Linked DNA regions of Homo sapiens: regions 1, 2, 3, 4 and 6 are each linked to region 5. The links are contacts of gene promoters, found by promoter capture Hi-C in blood cells and fetal thymus (Javierre and others, 2016). All regions are on one chromosome and are shown on one strand. Each heading gives the region's core, a stretch centred on a gene start or on the middle of the fragment in contact. The rest is flanking DNA. Distances are from core to core; before and after follow the strand shown. Region 1 has its middle 34 kb from the start of CAMK2B. Region 2 overlaps CAMK2B (calcium/calmodulin dependent protein kinase II beta). Region 3 has its middle 11 kb from the start of CAMK2B. Region 4 overlaps NUDCD3 (NudC domain containing 3). Region 5 holds the start of NPC1L1 (NPC1 like intracellular cholesterol transporter 1). Region 6 overlaps CAMK2B (calcium/calmodulin dependent protein kinase II beta).

Region 1 (2,775 bases), core at 80-2,579, 180 kb before region 5:
CGTTTGCTTAGGAAGCTTAGTTTGGCAGGATATAAAATTCTTGGTTGAAGATATTTTTCTTTAAGAATGTTGAATATAGGCCCCCAATCTCTTCTGGCTTGTAGGGATTCAGCTAAGAGGTCCACTGTTAGCCTGATGGGGTTCCATTTGTAGGTGACCTGCCCCTTCCCTCTAGCTGCCCTTAGCATTCTTTCTTTCATTTTGACCTTGGAAAATCTGATGATTATGTATCTTGGGATGATGTTCTTGTGTAGAATCTTGCAAGTTCCCTGTATTTCCTGCATTTGACTCTTGACATTTCAATCAAGGTTGGGGACATTGTCATGGGTGATATCTTGAAATATGTTTTCCAAGTTGTTTGCTTTCTCCCCCTCCCTTTCAGGGATGCCAGTGATTCATAGATTTGGCCTCTTTACATAATCCCATACTTTTTGGAGGTTTTGTTCATTCCTCTTCATTCCTTTTCCTTTATTTTTGTCTATCTTATTTCAGACAGCTATTCTTTGAATTCTGAGATTCTCTCCTCAGCTTGGTCTATTCTGCTATTAATACTTGGGTTGCATTGTGAAATTCTTGTATTGTGTTTTTTCAGCTCTGTCAGATCTGTTACATTCTTTTTATACTAGCTGTTTCATCCTTCAGCTCCTGTATCATTTTATTGTGATTATTAGTTTCCTTGGATTGGGTTTTGCTGTTCTCCTGAATCTCAATGATCTTCATTCCTAGCCATATTCTGAATTCTATTTCTGCCATTTCAGCCAGCTCAGCCTGGCTAAGAACTCATGTTGGAGACCTGGTGCGGTTGTTTGGAGGACATATGACACTTTGGCCATTTGAGTTACCACAGTTCTTGCATTGGTTCTTTCTCATCTCTGCATGTGGGTGTTCCTTTAGCTGCAGTGTAGATTGAGTAGTCAATAAACTTCTTTTCTGGATGTTTTCACAGGGCCAAGGCTTTGTGCAGGGTCTTTATTTGAAGCTGACTTCTTGTTCTTGGTTTCACAAGAGGTATGTTAGCGAGGTATTTTTGGTGTTGAAGCTTTGGAGTGATCCAGTAGGTGGTGCTTTGGTGTATTGGTCAGTTGGTAGACACTTGCTGGGTTGTGTGGCTCCCCTGTTTCCTCACAGTTTCAATGCTCTGAAAGCATGGGTTCCTCTCCCCTCTGAGTGCTGGATCATGGCTTGGCACTCCTGGGCTGCCTGCTGCAGTTCTGGGGCAATCTCAGGATTTATGTTCCTCCCCCACCTTGGAGGCAGCAGAGGAAGGGATCTTAGTAGTGGTTGTGGCCAACAGTCTTTTGCTTGTTTCCTGGGGGCTCCGCCCCAGAGAGATGTAAGTCAGCAGTCATTCAGTGCAATCATCCCAGGATGGAGGGTCTGTGCTATGGTCCCAAGCTGGGGGTTCCTGGTCTGGTGATGAGTGGGGATGGGGAGGTGGAACCCATGGGAGACAGACTGGCCTCCTCTTCTTGGGTCAACTGTACCTTGTTAGAGGTGTGGATAAAGCACTTATGGTCTTTACTCTTTCATTAGTTTGAGGGTGGCAAGGGCAGTTCTACTACAGAGGCAGTGGCAGAGAGGCTTTCAGTTGCCCATAGGGTCTCTGTCCAGGAAGTTGCAAAGCTTCCACTGGTTTGATAGCCCCAGCAGCAGGTGGCTAGAGGCCCAGGTCTTGAGGATCCACCCAGTGAGGAGCTGTGGGAACAAGCATCCACCTAACAGTCTGGCCACTTTTCCATAGGGCTGCTGCAATATGCTGGGGGTCTGCTCCAGTCCCTAGGTACCTCAGATTTTCCAGCACCTGGAGGTATCAACAGTGAAGGCTGTGAAACAGCAAAGATGGCAGCCTGCCCCTCCCTCTGGGAGCTCTGTTTCAGAGAGGTACGGACTTGTTGCCAGCCCAAACGCACCTGTAGGAGGTGGCTGGAGACCCTGGTTGGGAAATCCACCCAGTGAGGAGGAATGGGATCAAAAACCAGCCTTAAAAAGCAGTCTGGCCATGTTTTCATACAGCAGCTGTGCTGTGCTGGGAATCCACTCCAGCCCCCAGTCACCTTGCACTCTCCAAAGCCCAAAGGGCAGAACGGCTAAGTCACCCAAACAGCAAAGACGAAGACCTGCCCCTCCCTCTGGGAACTCCATCTCAGGGAGGTTGGAAATCTCTGATAGCCAAGGGACACTGGTGGGGATAGCTGGAGACCCCACTTGGGAGTTCCCATCCAGTGAGGATGGGATCAGGGACCTGCTTTAAAAAAGCAGTCTGGCATGTTTTCATAGAGCTACGGTGCTATGCTGGGGATCTGATTTAGCCCACAGTTGCCTTGGACCTTCCAAAGTCTGAAGGCTGGAATGGCTAAGTTGGCCAAACAGCAAATATGGCGGCCTGCCCCTCCCCCTGGGAGCTCCATCTTAGGGAGGTGTAACACTGCTACAGGTGGCTGGCTGGAGTTCTAAGCCAGTGGGTCTTATCCTGTGAGGTGCCATGGAAAGGGAGCCTGCAGACTGTCACTGCTCAGCCTCCGGGATTCAGCCCCTTTCCTAGGGATATGTATGGGGGTCTAGCCTCCCATTTTGCTGGAGTTGCAGCTGCTTTTGCCGGGGAGCCCAGAAAATCCAGGTATCTAAGGTTCCGGGGTCTCTGCATGTGCCTGAGTGGCTGCTCTGTTGAAACTCCATGTAGCTCTGTGTGTCAGACTGAAGGCCCTGGTGGAGTGAGTTTATGAGGGGATCTCCTTGACTCCATGGAAGGATCCATGGCAGAAGTGTGGGTTCCCA
Region 2 (2,827 bases), core at 287-2,786, 230 kb before region 5:
TGGGGCCTCCTGTGTCATTGGCGCCATCTGGCCCCTGGCACTGGGAATGGTCTGCCAGGGCTCACTGCATCTTTGGAATTCCTCCCCTGCCCACATGGAGAGGCTGTCACGCACATCAGGGGCCAACCTACTCCCTGGGACAAGGCTACGGTGCCTGTGTCCTAGGGCCTTGGTCCTGGCCTCATGAGATGCGCTTAGCCAGAGTCTGGTGGAGGTGGCCCATTAGCCTAGGGCCACCTGGAAGGAGCCTGTGGGAACTCTGAGGGGAACGCTGAGAGCTGACCCTTGTTGAATTTGTTTTCCTGTTTTTACCCACTGAAAGCTTTCATTTATTTTTCTGTGAGCTGTTGCTGCTGTCATCCGTACTTCAACTGGGGTTTTGGCCATTTTTTTTTAACTGGGGGGCCTCATTCTGTCACCCAGGCTGGAGTGCAGTGGTGTGACTGCAGCTCACTGCAGCCTTGATCTCCTAGCCTAAGTGATCCTCCCACCTGGGCCTCCCAAAGCGCTGGGATTCCAGGCCTTTTTGACCTATAGGAGCTCTTTCCATATGAGGGAAACCACCCATTCACCTCATGTAGCCCAAATGCTGGGAGGGCCTGCTGTGGCCTCACCCACACGGGATGTGCCCAGGAGGCATGGGGCAGGCACGTTCTTGTTCTGTTCCCTAACAGGAATGTGAACACTTTAAGCACAAGGCACGTCTCTTCTCCTCTTTGCCCCTAAAATCCAGATGTGCAGATGGCTAATTGCCGGAGCTGCCATCCTGACTCTCACCTGAGAAATTCCAGGGACAAGCTGAGCTGTGGGATGAAAGAAGTGCCCATGGTAGGTGGAGCCAGGATGCCAGATAGGAAGGCCCAGGTGGCTGGGGGAAGAGAGACAGGGCCTGCCCCATGCCTGTGTGTGGTGGCGCCCAGCATGGTGTCCTGCTCCTGGGTCCCCATCCCCCTGCCCCCGGCTCGCATCCCATGTCCCCCTCCTCTCCTCACAGCTTGCCTTCCCTGATTGGGAGCTGCTGGCCCTCCTCCTGTGCATCCCCCCACTTCCTTGGTCATCCCCTTCAGAACCACACTGCTGCCCTCTCTGAGCTGGATCCACAGGGACACCCGGAGGGCAGGACAAGGTTCCACCAACGTGTCTACTTTGGGAAGATGAAGGCAGGAGTGACATTACAGAGAGAGGGAGGTGCGGGCCCCCCATATCCCACCTTGTCCGGAGGGCAAGGCCCCGTCCTACTCAGGGAATGCAGACCACTAGCCCCAAGACTGGCCATGAGGCACAGAGAAGGCACTTTGCCCAGCAGCAGGCCTTGCACATCAGGCGGTGTGCGAGCCCCTCGTCTCTCCTCACAAGAGACCAGGGGCTGAGCAGACCATCCCTCCCCGGGGCCTCTGTCCATGGCCAGCCTGCCCTTTACTGCCTGCCAGCCGGAAGGCCCAGAAGGGTCCAGCAAAGGCACTGAGGGAACTGAGCTGCGGTGACCAGCCTGGCTTGGCTTAGCCCTGTCAGGGGGGTTGTGTCCTCAGGTCTGGCTAGGCTGAAACGGACCCCAGAGCCCTGCCCAGCACTGCCCGCCTGGCCTAGTAGGCTCCTACCACCAACGCGGATTCCACAAACCACTGCGACTGTGCTGTGCACTGTCCCAGAGGAGTGGGCGGGCACCAGGCCAGGCCCCAGAGAGGAGAGAGTGGTCTCACCACAGCCAGGCTGGTGCTCCTCCCTGCAGGGGGCTGGGACAAGGGGCAGTTCACAGCTGCCCAGCTGAAGCCGGGCTCTGGGGCAGGGGTCAGCCCACCCACCTGGGGCCCAGGCCATCTGCGCTCCTGGCCTGACGGGAGAAGGGACACAGACGGAGGGTTTAAGGCCACTGAGCTCTCAGGACGGCCCGAGTACCCGAGCTCTGAGCCAGCAGGAGCAGGAGGGCTGGGCTGCGCCTCCAGCCCCGGGGCCCACCCTTGCTGCGCCCCCATCTCCCTCCTGCACGTCCAGGGGCTGCCCTGGACCACATCAGGTCCCCAGCTCCGTCGCGCCCCTAAGCACAGGGCATGGGGAGGGCCCTCGGGAAGGACAGGCAGAAGCGGTCCCCATCCGAGGAGTCCTCTGACCCCAGGGTGCGGGTGTGGGCTGGAGTGCGGTGGGGTCGGGACTCTGCGCCCGCGGCGTCCCAGCTGTGGAAAGGACACAGCCTCCTCGCCCGGGCAGGAGCGCCCGCGGGGGACCAGTCAGTCCCTCACCCTAGCAGTGGGACCTGAGTGGATCCAAAAGCCAGAGACACCAGCCCATCGGAAGAAACTGGGGACGAGAGAGATTCCGACGCCAGCACCGTAGGGGCCGCACTCGGCGTCCGTCCGCGCAGCCTTGCAGCGACCTTCAAAGGCGGCGCTTAAGAGCCGGTCACGCCCCTCCTGGAGCGGCGGCCCGCGGGTAGTCACCGCGCCTGAGCAGCCAGAACCAGGCCGAGGCCGCGCGGCTCGCGAAGGACACGCGGGAAGAGCCTTTCCGCCGGCTGAGCCGTGGGCGCCACCGCCAGGGACCCCAGGCTCACCAAGCCACGCGCGGAACCGCACGGTGGCCGAGACCGGGCGGGGGCGGGGGCGCTTTGGGAGTTAGGATACGCTTTGTGCCCGCTTGCTGCTTTTTTCCTGCAAGCTGCGCATCAATTAAAGTACTCGGGTTTTTGTTTGGTTTCAGATCAATCAGATTTCATCCTTCGAAAGTTTTATTCTCAAGGAATGCAAAAGGATTTTGGAAGCTTAGAAATGTCCACGTAATCAGACTGTGGGTCACCTGCATGTGGGAGAGATGAGCTTTGGGGCAAGTCTCA
Region 3 (2,857 bases), core at 157-2,656, 200 kb before region 5:
TGCACTTGGCCCTCCTCTGTAGCCTCCACAGAAGCTTGGCACAATGAACACAGCCCTCCTGCCCCCTTTCCCAGTCCCTGCCCCCATGTCCCACCTCCACATCCCCAGCCTGGCAGGCCACTGAGACTTAGGGACTCTGATACAGAATGGTCACAAAAGGGGACTCCCAGGGAGGAAAGAATAAATGGCCCATGAAGTGTATGGGCACGTGGTGCCCTTCAGGTGAACACAGCCAGGTTGGGCTGTGGCCTTGTTCTTTTTTTTCTGTGACCCCTCTCTGAATGCCCCTCAGTCTCTGGCCTGGCCGGGGCATCTGCCACACACCTGGAGGGAGGACTTCGGCTGGCGTCTCAGCAGGCTGGCCAGTGGGCCCAGACCCTCACAGGGGCCAGCTGCATGACAGCCAGCAGACTCAGGTAGAGCCTGAAGTAGCCCTGATAATGGGCTACTCAACCTACTCAACCTCCAGGCTACTCAACCTCCAGGCTGGGGTGCCCCTCATGCTAGCACAGCCCCTGGGGCCTGGAGGGCAATGGACAGCTCCTGCCTCCCACCTACTTAGGTTTCTACCCAGTGGCTCTCCCTCAGAGCCTCCTACCAGGACTGTGGGCCTCTGCAGGAATTGGGTAGGTCCGGGTCCCCTCCACAAGCTCCCAGGGATCTTCTAAACCCCTCCTCAACTTCCCCCTCCCCAACACTTCCCCCTGACCCCAGAGAGAAATTGCTAGGGGGCCAGGCCTAACTACTGTTTTACCACACCCTGGAAACTCCATATGTAGCAACCTCAGCTTTGTAGCCACTATCCATGCTAACAGTGCTAACAGGAGCTATCATGTATTGGCGGGGGGCTAGAGGACATCCATTTGGAATAATATTTCAGAATCAGGACTTGGTGGCCTACTGCAAGTGAGAAGTGAGTGTGGAGGGGCTGGGGCTGCATGGATCTCTCCTATTTTTCTATAATGGCAGGATAAAGGGAAAACGAAAAGGAGGAACAGGTATGGGGTACAGATATTAAATTCCAATTAGGGAGTGTAGTGTTTAAGGGCCTCCTAAATATCCACTACCTGCAGTATCAGTGAAAATATGGCCTAGAGGCCAAGATAAAGAGAAGAATTGAAGGCACAGGCGGGAGAATGATCAATAGAAGGAAGGATTGAGTTGCAGTCTAGTGAGTGTCACAGGAGGAGAGAAAAGGGCTCATAAGGGGTCTCTGAGGGAGGCGGCATCAAGGAGATGGTTTGAGGAAGGGGTGATTAAGGAGACAAAGAAAGAGCAAGTAAAGGGGCGGGGGCAAATCCAGGAGAGAAGAGTGTCATGGAAGCTGGGTCGAGAAGTCTCCAGGCAGAGAAACGCCAGAGGCTGGGTTGCAGTAGGTCAAGGAGGGCATGGACAAATTGGATGTGGAAACAAGCATCACCTTCTCCAGCCAAAATCACTTGTGACTTCCACTTCTAGCTGTTTTACCAGACTAGCCCTCCCACCAAAAATAACCATGAATCTGGACAAAGTACGTGAGGCAGCTGTTTTCAGGGAGTGCAAGACTCAGATCCCTGTGGGAAGGGACGCTTAGGAGGTGAGCCCCGTGATTGCTCCGTGCTCCCCGACAGAGTTTTCTGACTGTGGCACACGGCACCGGAGTCTGGGCAGGGCACGGGGGTCATGTGGAGCTGAAGAGGTGGAGCAGCGGGAGCAGTGGGCATGCGTGGAGCCAAGCATTGGAGAAGAGGGAGCTGTGCACGCAGGGGTCCCAGAACCCCACACAGGAGCTCTGCAAGTCCTTGACTGACAACTAAGCTGCACATACAAAGGGAAGAACTGAGTCATGCCAAATTAGAGAGGCTTAGGAAACATTTTGGATGTTCCGTGCATCTGCAGTAACAAAACATGAACCCTAAGTAAGGAAGTTCAAAGTCATCTGCCAATAATTAAATTGCCTACTAAAACAATAATCAACATTCTTCAGAGGAAGTTAACACAATTTTGAGTTTCACAATATATTAGCCACAAAATCTAGTATTCAATTTTTAAAAAAAATTGCCAGGTATATAAGGAAATAGGAAAATGTGATGCCCAGGCAAGAATAAAGCAGACTATAGAACAGTAACTTAATCTAAAATGACCCAGATGTTGGGCTTAGCAGACTGTAATGTGGCGATTATAAATATGTCCAAATAATTAAAGTAAGATATAGTCTTAATCAGTGAGTATATAGGAAAACTCAGCCCCAAAATGGTATCTGGATACAAATTTTAAAACTAAAAAGTATAATAATTGAAATGAAAAATTCACTGGAAGGCTTAATAGCAGATTGGAGATAGTAGAAGAGTCGATAAACATGAAGACAGATCAATAAACATTATCTGAAGATCACAAGGAAAAAAGGCTGAAGGAAAGTGAATAGAGCCTGCGAACCTTGTGGAATAGTATCACATAATCTAACACATACGTAATCAGAGTCTCAAAGGAAAAGGTGTAGTAAAATTGGGGCAGAACAAATATGTGAAGAAATAATGGCCAAAACATCCCAAATTTGATGAAAAACATCAATTTACATATCCAGTAGTCTCAATAAACTCAAATCAGGATAAACAGAAAAAATAACAACACTCAGACACACAGTTCTGAAAACCTAAGAAAATTCTGAAAGCAGCTGGGTTTGCTGGGAGGTATAACATTACTTACAGGGAAACAAGTATAAGAATCATTACCAACTTCTCACCAGGAACAATGGAGGCAGAAACAATTGAATGGCATCATGAAAGTGCTGAAAGGAAAAAAGCTTCAACCAAAAAGATACTCATCTAGCAAAAATACCCTTTTAAAACAAGGTTGAAATGAAGACATTTAGACAAGA
Region 4 (3,182 bases), core at 545-3,044, 160 kb before region 5:
TTCGTCTCTCTGAGATAGTGACCACACTGTCCTCACCAGGACTGGCAGGGGAAGCCCCAGGGCTTTGTGACCCTGTCCCTATGGGGCACCCTGGCGTCCAGTGGGCACTCCCCAGGGCAGCAGCCTGGTTTAAATGCCTGTTCCCCAGACCCCACAGTCAGACGGTAGAGAGGAGCCTCAGGGACATAGCCCAGTTCTTCAGGACCGTGGGCCACATGGGCTGCTTGACCTCTGACCACCAAGGAGGGAGTTTCTCAAGGACTGGCCAGGTTCTGTGCTGACAACTTCGTGCTTTTCATCGACAAAGCGAGTCATGCTGTCCCTTCCCCAGCTGAGCTGGCTGCCAACAGGCCCAGTGGAGAGCAGATTTGAGGTGGGGGTGAGGTCTGTTCCCCAAGCGCAGTGTTCTGGGCAGTGAGTTCTCTGTGCAGCAGCTGACGCCTCTTGGACACATTTCCACACAAAACACTTCTCAACTGTTCTCCCTCCTGCACTCTTCAGGGGCAAATACGCCTCTCCTTTCTGGCGGGTTATTTCTGGCCCTGGGAGTATGCTAGGCAATTCTAAGGATTGCCTTTGAAACAGTCTTTATTCAGCCAAGTACTTCTCACACCCCTAGGTCCTGTCCCCAGGGGTGAGCAGGGTCAGAGGAGGCTGGAGATGGGGTGGGCACAGAGAAGGAGAGTCAAAGATCTGACTGAGGAAGAAGCAGGTGGCCAGCCACCTGGGAGACTTCTGTGTCAGACACGGCGTTATGTCCTGGAGGAAGCCCATTGCGAGGGCTCAGCAAAGTTAACAGCAGGTATGCACCTGGAGACCAAGGAGGGCCTTGGAGCCTGGTGGGCAAAGGTGGCCCTTCAGTGGAATCATTCCCAACTCTGCACTCACCCTAAGCTTTCCAGTAACTACAGAATTCCAGAACCTGTTTGAAAGGATGTAAGATCTATAGCTACATTCTTTTTCTCCCCACTGGTCAAAATCTTACAGGATTTCTAAAGCTGTATTGAGATCTTGCCCAGTGCATTCAGACCAGATGGGAAACAACCCCTAAGAATTCCCCATGCTGGTGTTTGCTGTGTACGTTGGCCTGGGACCTCAAGGCTAGAATGCAACAATAATGACCATGCACAGACAGAACTGTCTCAGCAGCAAATGTCACACGCAGACCCAGAACTGCTTAAATACCAATTTATTGCAAACCAACACCAAGGAGCTGGAATAGCTTTGCAGGCTGGACACCTCACTCTCCTCGGGCCCTGGACAAGGGAAATGAGTCACCCCGCTTTCCTCGGACCTCAGCTGGTGGGACTTAGTGGCTGGCCAAACTGCGGCTGTTGTGTCTAAAAAGAGAAAACAGGCAGGGTGTGCCAGCTCTGGAGACTGGGCCAGTCCAGGGTGGTGGCTCAGGGCAGAGAATCACCCACCAGACAGCGTGGCTCAACGGGAGCAAGGCGCGCAGGGACAGGCTCCACAACCACACCAAGCACCGCAGTGTGGCACCGGGACCAGATGCAAGTGGCTGTTCCTGCCATGGGGCCAATACCCAATACTATCCCTCAGTCATTCTTCCTAGATATTGGTTTGCTGTTTATTAAAGCAGGGCAGGGAGTGGGGAGAAATGCAACACAGAATATAAAATCAGGCAAAACAAACACTAGTCACCATGGAAGTGAATGACTCTCAAAGTCTCCCAAATAACAAGGTGTAGGGCATCTCACACCACTGCATCACTTCTGGAAGACTACCCACAGGGTGGGGGCTGCAATGGGGGCCAACTCGGGAACTATAGAGAAGAGAGGAGACACACACCACAAGACCTCCTTTCATTAGGCAGGAAAGCTCTTGTGGGACAGTGGTGTGCAAATCCTAGGACCTCAATGGGAAGAACTCCAGGAAAAAAAATGACAAGTCTTTCTCAGGACCCCTCATAGATGACAAGAATTCTGCTCCCCAGGGTCGAGATCTCTTTAGAGGGGCTTCACCAGCTCAGTGGCAAATATCAGACAACAAGACTCTCACATTCCAAAGGGGGTATCTAGGGCCTTTTGCTCTCCTGTGATGATCGGAGCAACATGTTTGGACCCACAGAAGACTTCCCAGGAATGCTTTCTTACAAGGGGTGTCAGCCACCACTGTAAACCAGAAACAAACCACAAACTTACTCTCCAAGAGAGCCCCCACAACCCAAGTATCCATAGAGAGTGTGCAGGAGCGGGGACCTTCCCCTGACAATAGGCCCTCTTAGCATCTGCGGGCCTTGATTCTTGCTGGCCGTGCATGGTGCCAGGGTGCACTGCCCTGCTGTGTGGCTTATCCATGCTCTGAGCTTGACAGACAGGCAAATGGACAGTGCCGGTGGCAGCTGAACCATACTCCCGGCGATGGGCACCCAGAGCCCCTGTGAGTACTTGGAACACAGGCCTGAGGACCTGTCTCATAATCTCGTCTTTGCACCTTGGCTGGAGTCAGTCAGCAGCCATGGCTCAGGGCATAGGCTTGGGGGTCCTGAGGCAGTGACCAGTCCCTGGAGAACAGGTAAGATTGGGCCATAAGTTCCAAGGAGCACAGTCTGGCACCTGGCACAGAGGATGGGAAGAGGGGAGTCTTCACTCTCTTCTGGTTCAGTTGTGGTGGGACAGTGTGCCTTCACGCCCCATGCAGAAATTCCTCCTCTCCCAGAAGCCCTTCAAGGTCAAAGCTTCTCAGGACTTGTGGCTGTCGAGCTCTGCTGAGCTGATGGACATGCTGTGGTCTCCTCCTGAGGGCACCAGCTCTCCACTCCTGCCCACACTTTGACACCGTGCACCCAAAGAGGACGTCTTATGGGGAGCCAAGCACAGCATGCCATGCGTGGTGGCCGGGCTTGGTTCACTTCAACAAGAACCAAAGCAAGGTCGCCACAGTCAGAGAACAGAATCCCCGCTGCATCTGGACCTGAGCCCAGAACCTAGGCTTTCTCCGAACAACTAGAACGTGCAAACAGGGCTCCAGTCTCCACTGCTCTGACCATGAGGCTGAGGCAGGCAAAGCACATTTATAAGGGGATGAGCAAGAAGACCACGTGAATGCTCTCAAAAGAGGTCAAGGGGCAAGGAGTTTCCCAGAGCAGCCTCAGGCACAGCCATTCCTTGCTTGCCCTCATGCAAGCACAGAGCTTCACACACTTCAATGACTTCAGCTTC
Region 5 (2,903 bases), core at 153-2,652:
CATAGGCCACCACAGCTGGGAGTTGTCCAGCCCCTAGCTGGGCCACGCGGGTCACATTGATGAAGAGGCTCTGATTGGGGCTGCACGTGTTGTGGCAGTGCAGGTTCACAAAATTGTCAGAGCAGGCTGGGCAGCGGGTGAGGAGGGCCTTGGTGATCGACAGACTCGCTTCCAGTGATACCAGCTGCTTGGCGGAGCAGCAGGCTTGGGTGTTGGGGCCGGTGTAGAGGCGGGGGCAGATCTTCTGTAATAGGATCAGGTGATCACCTGTGATCTTGCGGGCCGGCGTGTTGGACAGGCAGGACACGTTGGAGAGTGTCATGAGGCTTCCAGACAGCTCTGGGTTCTTCCCACATTCGTCATAGAAGGCGCAGTAGCCAGGCTGGTGGATGGTTGTGTAAGGCTCACTCTGGGCCTGCAGAGCACAGCAACATCACGCGTGGGCCCTGACACAGCTGGGTGCCATCCAGGCAGCAGGCAGCCAGGGAGGGTGTGAGGGTAAGAAGGACATGGAGCAGGGGCAGGGAAGCGGGGAGTGTGGGGAGTAGGAAGCCTCCTGGAGGCATGTGCCAGCCAGCCAGTGTTGGAGTGACAACACTGGCCTTTCTTCCTGGGGGTGGCCTGATAGACCTGCAGCTTAGGAAAGTCATGCTGGAGAGGCCAGAGATGGGTAAGGAGGCAAAGCTGACTCCAAGGTCCCGGGCTCTGCCCACGTCAAAGTCAGCCTGAGTCCCCACACTGTACACCACATCCAGAGGCCAGGGTCTCTCATGGAGAGTCTGTTCAGGAGGCCCCCCGACTCCCACCACCACTACCACCACCTGCTTGAGGCCAAAAGCTGTCACCCACCTCCCAGACACAAAGTAAGCGAGGAACTTAAGAGGTGCCAGCGCTGGATCTTCTCCCAGCCTCCAGAGTGCTCAGTCCTCCCTAGGTGATGCTCACCAGGTAACCCCATCCCAGCACCTCCTTGCCTCAGACCTCCCTCAACTGCAGGCCTGGACCCCACAGTAGGGCCAGTGACAGGAGGGACTTGGAGCACCCCAGTCCAGCAGCCTCTTTCACCCCTGTGTGCATTCAAGCCTGTAACCTGGAAACCCTCCACCTGCACCCCTCCTCTGTGGGGCCTGGCATCCCTCATGTGTCCAGAGACTTGCCCAGCCCGCAGGCCCTGAGGCTCCCTTGCTGTCACCCAGTAACGCTCGCCTGGTACACGGCTGGCCCCAGGGTCCCTAACTGGAGGCCGCAGGGGAGGTGGAGCCAAGCCCTGGGACTCACCAAGCGCAGGAGCAGGGCCCACAGCAGCCAGCCCCTCAGGCCGGCCTCCGCCATCCCAGGTCTGGGAAGGGGTCAGCGGGGAGCCAGGCCAGGCCTCAGGAACAGCCAAGGGCTGAACACACATTAAGGCAGCCTCCTCCCCTTCGATGACAACCCTGGCCTGACTGGGTTAGGGACCAATGAGGCTGAGCCCTGCTGGTTAATGATCCACCACTCCCACTGTTTGGCCCCAGTCCACAGGCCCCCGCTTTAGATGAGCCTCATCACGCAGGTGCTAGGGTCTCCACTCACTTCCCAAAGCGACCGAAGCCAGAGGGCTGAGTCAGCTAGGGGAGAGACCACGCTATTAGCCCCTAACACTGCTGGAGTTGGTGCCAGGGCCTGGAGGCACAGATGGGACCAGGCACTGGCTGGGACCCGGCCTCAGGAGCTCAGCATGGCCGAGGAACCTCCGCACCCTCCCTGGCTCAGCCTCAGACCCCAGCTCTGCCCTACCCCCTCTTGGGACCAGGGCCAGCAATGGGCTCAGAGGAACCCTCTGCACTGTCATCCCTAGCAACTGTTGTTAATTAATATTAACAGCCTGATAACGGAGGGGCAGGCAGGGTGGAGTGACGCAGTGACAAAAGTCCCCTCCTCCAGGAAGCAAAGGGAAAGAACAGCTCACTCTAGGGCCTGACAGTTGACAGAGACCCCAGATAGTGGAAGACTCTCCTTTGCTCACTTTGCTCTTCATCCCCTCTTCCCCCCGACCTTCTCCCTCTTGTCCCTTGCCCAGGCCTGTCCCACCGGTCACCCCTAGCAAGGGACAGAGCATGGCTGGGAGCCTTGAGCAGCAGCCCTGCTCCACCTGGGCCCAGGGGTGTGGTACACACTTTCTGCTCCCTCCTGATAGGAATCTTCAAGGCCTACCTTGGGTTCTCACTATCACCAGGATGGGCCATGACCTTTACCCCCATTTGGTAATGGGCCCCCATTACCAAAGCTGAGCTGCAGATAAGGGCAGCTTGTTGGGAACATCTCCTGCGTGGCCACCTACTGGAGACAGCTGCAGGAAGGGACCTGTCTCTAGTGTTCTGTGGACCCCTGCCTGATTCACAGGGGAGCCACCCAGCCTCATGCAGGAGAAGACAGAGGCTGAGAGGAAGGGGGCCAAGGCAGGGTCAGGCTGACCCCTAAGTTCTCAAGACAGCCATAGTGGAGAGGAAGACAGTCAGCAGCCAAGGACCTGCCCCTGTGAGTGACAGCTCCATCCAGCACCTTCCCAGCACTGCTCCCAAGTCCCTGGCCGGCAGAGGCGGACACCCCACCACCCATGAAGCTGCCTCTCTAGGTCCTCTGTTCCCGGTGTTGTCATCTAGTTCCTCCAGAAACAGATCCTGAAACAAGGATCCCAGTGCAAAGAGTTTATTGGGGAGATGACCCCAGATGACAGCAGTCGGTGAATGGGGAATGAGCCAGGGGATGGAAGAAAGCTGACCAGAATGCATCCAAGAGCTTGCTCCTGCCCCCAGGGACCTCCGGGAACTGGTGGGGACGTGCCCAAGAAGGTCCCCTCCAAGGAATAAGGACACAGACAGCTTTCCACCACATTCATCTGTCACTGGTAGAGGACATTCCTGGAA
Region 6 (3,008 bases), core at 378-2,877, 250 kb before region 5:
CCCTGAAAGGTGCTCCTCCCCATAATGGCTGTCCACCCGCACCCATCCTGCCATCTCCCCGGGGAACTTGGGCTGGCAGCTGCAGATCCACCTCTGTCTCCTCCCCTTCCTGGTGGTTCTGCCACTTGCCAGACGGCAATCTGTCACGGGAAGCCCCCTTGGAAGTGTCAGCCCTCTTGAGAAGTGGCCACAAACATGTTTAGCATGAGCCATGCAGGCCATGGCTGGGGGCCCAACATCTCTGACTTCTCCAAGAGCAAAGAAGCCAGCACCATCACCATACTCCCTTGCGACTCAGTGCTTGCCCGCCAGTGTTTATAAACATTGAGAGACAACACCGACAAAGAGCCTGGATCTGTATCATAAGCCTGTCCCTGCTGCCAAGGGCAAACTCCTATGCGTCCTTCAAGATCCAATGCAAACAGCTCCCCGCTTTCCCAGCTCACACAGAAAGTCAGCTTGGTCTTTAGATATTGCACCTCCCACGTTCCTTAGGTTAGTTTACTTAATTATCTACCTGTTCACTTTTGCCACTCCCCCTTCCAATGGCTCTCTATGGGCAGAGTGCCCTATACTCTGGACCTAGGTATCAGGCACAGTGCCTGGGCTGTGATATAGGAGCCAGAACTGACCTACAAGCAACACAGTGGGCTGTGGAGCATGGAGTTGCTGGGCCTCAGGGCTTGTCCAGCCCAGCAGTACAGGAAGAGCGGCCCCTAGAGTGTCCCAGCAGGAGGGGAGACCCACCAAGGCTTCCAGGGCCTGTGGGTAGATGGGTCTGTGCTACACTGAGGCCACAAGGCCCTGGTCAGAGCCAGGGGGTACCCCAAGTAAATAAGGCCTGGGGCTTAGGCTCCCCGCCTCTCCACCAGCGCACAGAGGCTCGAAGCCCGGTCTTCTTATCTGGAAGCACGGGCGGGCCTAGCAGGCGGCAGCATGGTCCTTGGGCTCAGCAAAGAATGCCTTGGATGACACTGCAGGTGCATAGGCTGATCACACGCCTGCCTCTAGGGTGTGGACCATCCCAGGCAGCTGTAAGGGCACAGCGGGTTGGGGCAAAGGCAGGAAAAAGCCGGAAGAGGTGCTCCTACGGGATCCCAGGTCGCTGTTCCTGTGGGCTGCGAATTGCATCTAGACATCAAGGTTGCCCGCATGATGGCCTGCATGGGACGAATGCTACTGAGCCAGGCTGAAAGCGATTTTGAATAACCTGTTCAGATCATGAGGCCCCCGGGCACCAAGCATATTATGGGGCTTTTAAAATCAAATAAAGCTAATTAAAACAAGAAAATACTCTTTGAGTCCTTGCTTTGTGGAAGGCTCTGAACCCTGTCTCATTTACAGTGGGATCAACAGTACCAGGGAAACCTGTCCTGAGAGAGAAGGGGAAGAATTAGTTCTGGGTGGGAATGGAGGCCCGGAACTACATGGCCTGTTTCTACGACTGCACCTGCTCGGGCACCTCCTTCATTGCAGGGGGGCTCAGGCTTCTCGCGCGATAATGGGGTGAAGGCCACCTGCGAGGAGAGGTGCTGAGTGTACCTCCCCTGACTGCAGCCACCCAGGGCAGTCGGTGTTTCACAGGCATCCTGTGGGCTCTCGGGGCTTCACAGGCAGAGGCAGCAGGAAGCGTCATTGTCTGCAGGATGCCCCATCCGCCTCTGTCTCCTCCTCGCATCCAGTCTATGGCTCCTCTGGCTCCACAACAGACTGCTGGTGCAGGCCCAGGCTTTCCCAGCTCTGAGCTGCCCCCCCAACCCTCGTGCCTGCCTCTTCCCTCCAGTCCCCACTTGCAACCGGCCACCAGTTGCTGACTATCCGTGGCTCCCACCAACCCCCACGGAGCTCCCCACCGCAGGTGGCTCTGTGGCCTGCCCCACTCTCCACTAAGTCATGCTGGTCGCACTGCGGCCCTCGCCAGCTGCCCGCACCTCTCCCCGGAGAGCTGGGAGGAGGTGTGTCCCTGAGCAGCATGGCTGGAGTTTGTGGGAGGGCCCAGAGAGCAGGAAGGAAATTTCGCCTTGCCCCCAGCAGGACCACACAACAGCCCCTCTAGGGCCCTCTCATGCCTCACCTTCACTGGTGAAGACTGGGGGTTACCAAGATTACCGGCTCTTGGGGTGCCAGTTAAGACACTTGGTAACGACACCAGGGAGGGAAGGTCGGACCCTGCGTCCCCACAGCCTATCCCGTGTGGTCACGCAGACCTTGCTCAGGTGCCCTCCCCAGCCACCTCACAAGGGCTGGTGACTTCCATCAGTAAGGGGGCAGTGATTGTCCCCCTACACAGAATGAGGTGACACAGGTACCAGCCACAACACAGTATCCGGCATCCAGAAAGAGCCGGCAGTGTGATTCTGCTCCCAGGACAGCATAGGCAGGGACCCAGGCGCCTGGAGTGATCGTGCATGTGATCCCCATGACAGGCTGCTGAGCTCCCGCAGGGCAGCGCTGGGCCACGCAGGATCAAAGCGGCCTCTGAGTCGGCCCACTCAACGCTTGGATTCCGTTCCCTTAGTGGAAATTTCAGAGGCAGCAGCTTCTCTCCCTGTTCCTCTCTCTGCCTCCCGCAGCCCATGTCCACACCATCCAGTTTCCTCCCCAAGTGCTGGGGCCTGTGCCACCCCAGCCAGGGCTGCCTGCATCAGTCCTGAGCCTCACCGGTCGGTTGCAGTTCACAGGCATGCGCACACACACATGTGCACTCTCCTCACTCAGATGTTGCAGAATAGGCTGGAAACGCCCCCTCAGATTCCCAACAACAGTGACAGCCAAGGGCCATGGGACCCCTTCAATCCACAGCAAGGCCACACGCAATTCCAGGAAGTTCTTAAATTTTAGAATTTTAGAAAGAAGCTGAGGAGCCCTGAGTAAAAGCAAAAGATCCAAGCCTGGCTGACCTGTTTTGTAAATCGAAATTTCCCATCCAGTTTTTGCGTCTGACGCTCCCCACGCGGGCCAGGCGCTGTCTCCCTAGTAGCAAGCACAGCCCCCTCCCCGCTCAGGTC

Evidence for each region. Contacts are between HindIII fragments. The CHiCAGO score rates a contact against its expected background, and 5 or more counts as called.
Region 1: a contact is called between a fragment that was not itself captured here and the fragment with the promoter of NPC1L1 in region 5, in 1 of 17 cell types (endothelial precursors). The highest score is 6.3, in endothelial precursors.
Region 2: a fragment that was not itself captured here is called in contact with the fragment with the promoter of NPC1L1 in region 5 in 1 of 17 cell types (endothelial precursors); the score reaches 5.2 in endothelial precursors.
Region 3: a fragment that was not itself captured here is called in contact with the fragment with the promoter of NPC1L1 in region 5 in 1 of 17 cell types (endothelial precursors); the score reaches 5.8 in endothelial precursors.
Region 4: a contact is called between a fragment that was not itself captured here and the fragment with the promoter of NPC1L1 in region 5, in 1 of 17 cell types (M0 macrophages). The highest score is 5.1, in M0 macrophages.
Region 6: a fragment that was not itself captured here is called in contact with the fragment with the promoter of NPC1L1 in region 5 in 4 of 17 cell types (M1 macrophages, endothelial precursors, megakaryocytes and 1 more); the score reaches 8.1 in M1 macrophages.

What each region holds. Positions count from the first base shown.
Region 1 is chr7:44,358,584-44,361,358 of GRCh38, forward strand. No RefSeq gene overlaps it. Among named protein-coding and RNA genes, the nearest start is that of CAMK2B, 34 kb to the left of the region's middle. The HindIII fragment of the contact is 584 bases long and covers 1,038-1,621 here.
Region 2 is chr7:44,307,488-44,310,314 of GRCh38, forward strand. The region is part of intron 1 of CAMK2B (calcium/calmodulin dependent protein kinase II beta); the gene reads right to left. Among named protein-coding and RNA genes, the nearest start is that of CAMK2B, 17 kb to the right of the region's middle. RefSeq lists enhancers at 1,399-2,002, 2,003-2,604. The HindIII fragment of the contact is 2,433 bases long and covers 321-2,753 here.
Region 3 is chr7:44,335,033-44,337,889 of GRCh38, forward strand. No RefSeq gene overlaps it. Among named protein-coding and RNA genes, the nearest start is that of CAMK2B, 11 kb to the left of the region's middle. The HindIII fragment of the contact is 2,748 bases long and covers 33-2,780 here.
Region 4 is chr7:44,382,417-44,385,598 of GRCh38, forward strand. It overlaps NUDCD3 (NudC domain containing 3), which reads right to left. Exons shown (of 6, transcript NM_015332.4): 6 at 1-3,182. Among named protein-coding and RNA genes, the nearest start is that of CAMK2B, 58 kb to the left of the region's middle. The HindIII fragment of the contact is 1,804 bases long and covers 893-2,696 here.
Region 5 is chr7:44,539,928-44,542,830 of GRCh38, forward strand. NPC1L1 (NPC1 like intracellular cholesterol transporter 1) reads right to left here and starts at 1,403. Exons shown (of 19, transcript NM_001101648.2): 1 at 1,279-1,403; 2 at 1-415. The coding sequence starts at 1,332. RefSeq lists an enhancer at 75-696. The HindIII fragment of the contact is 6,836 bases long and covers 1-2,903 here.
Region 6 is chr7:44,287,360-44,290,367 of GRCh38, forward strand. The region is part of intron 1 of CAMK2B (calcium/calmodulin dependent protein kinase II beta); the gene reads right to left. Among named protein-coding and RNA genes, the nearest start is that of CAMK2B, 37 kb to the right of the region's middle. RefSeq lists enhancers at 1,248-1,890, 2,587-3,008. The HindIII fragment of the contact is 7,022 bases long and covers 1-3,008 here.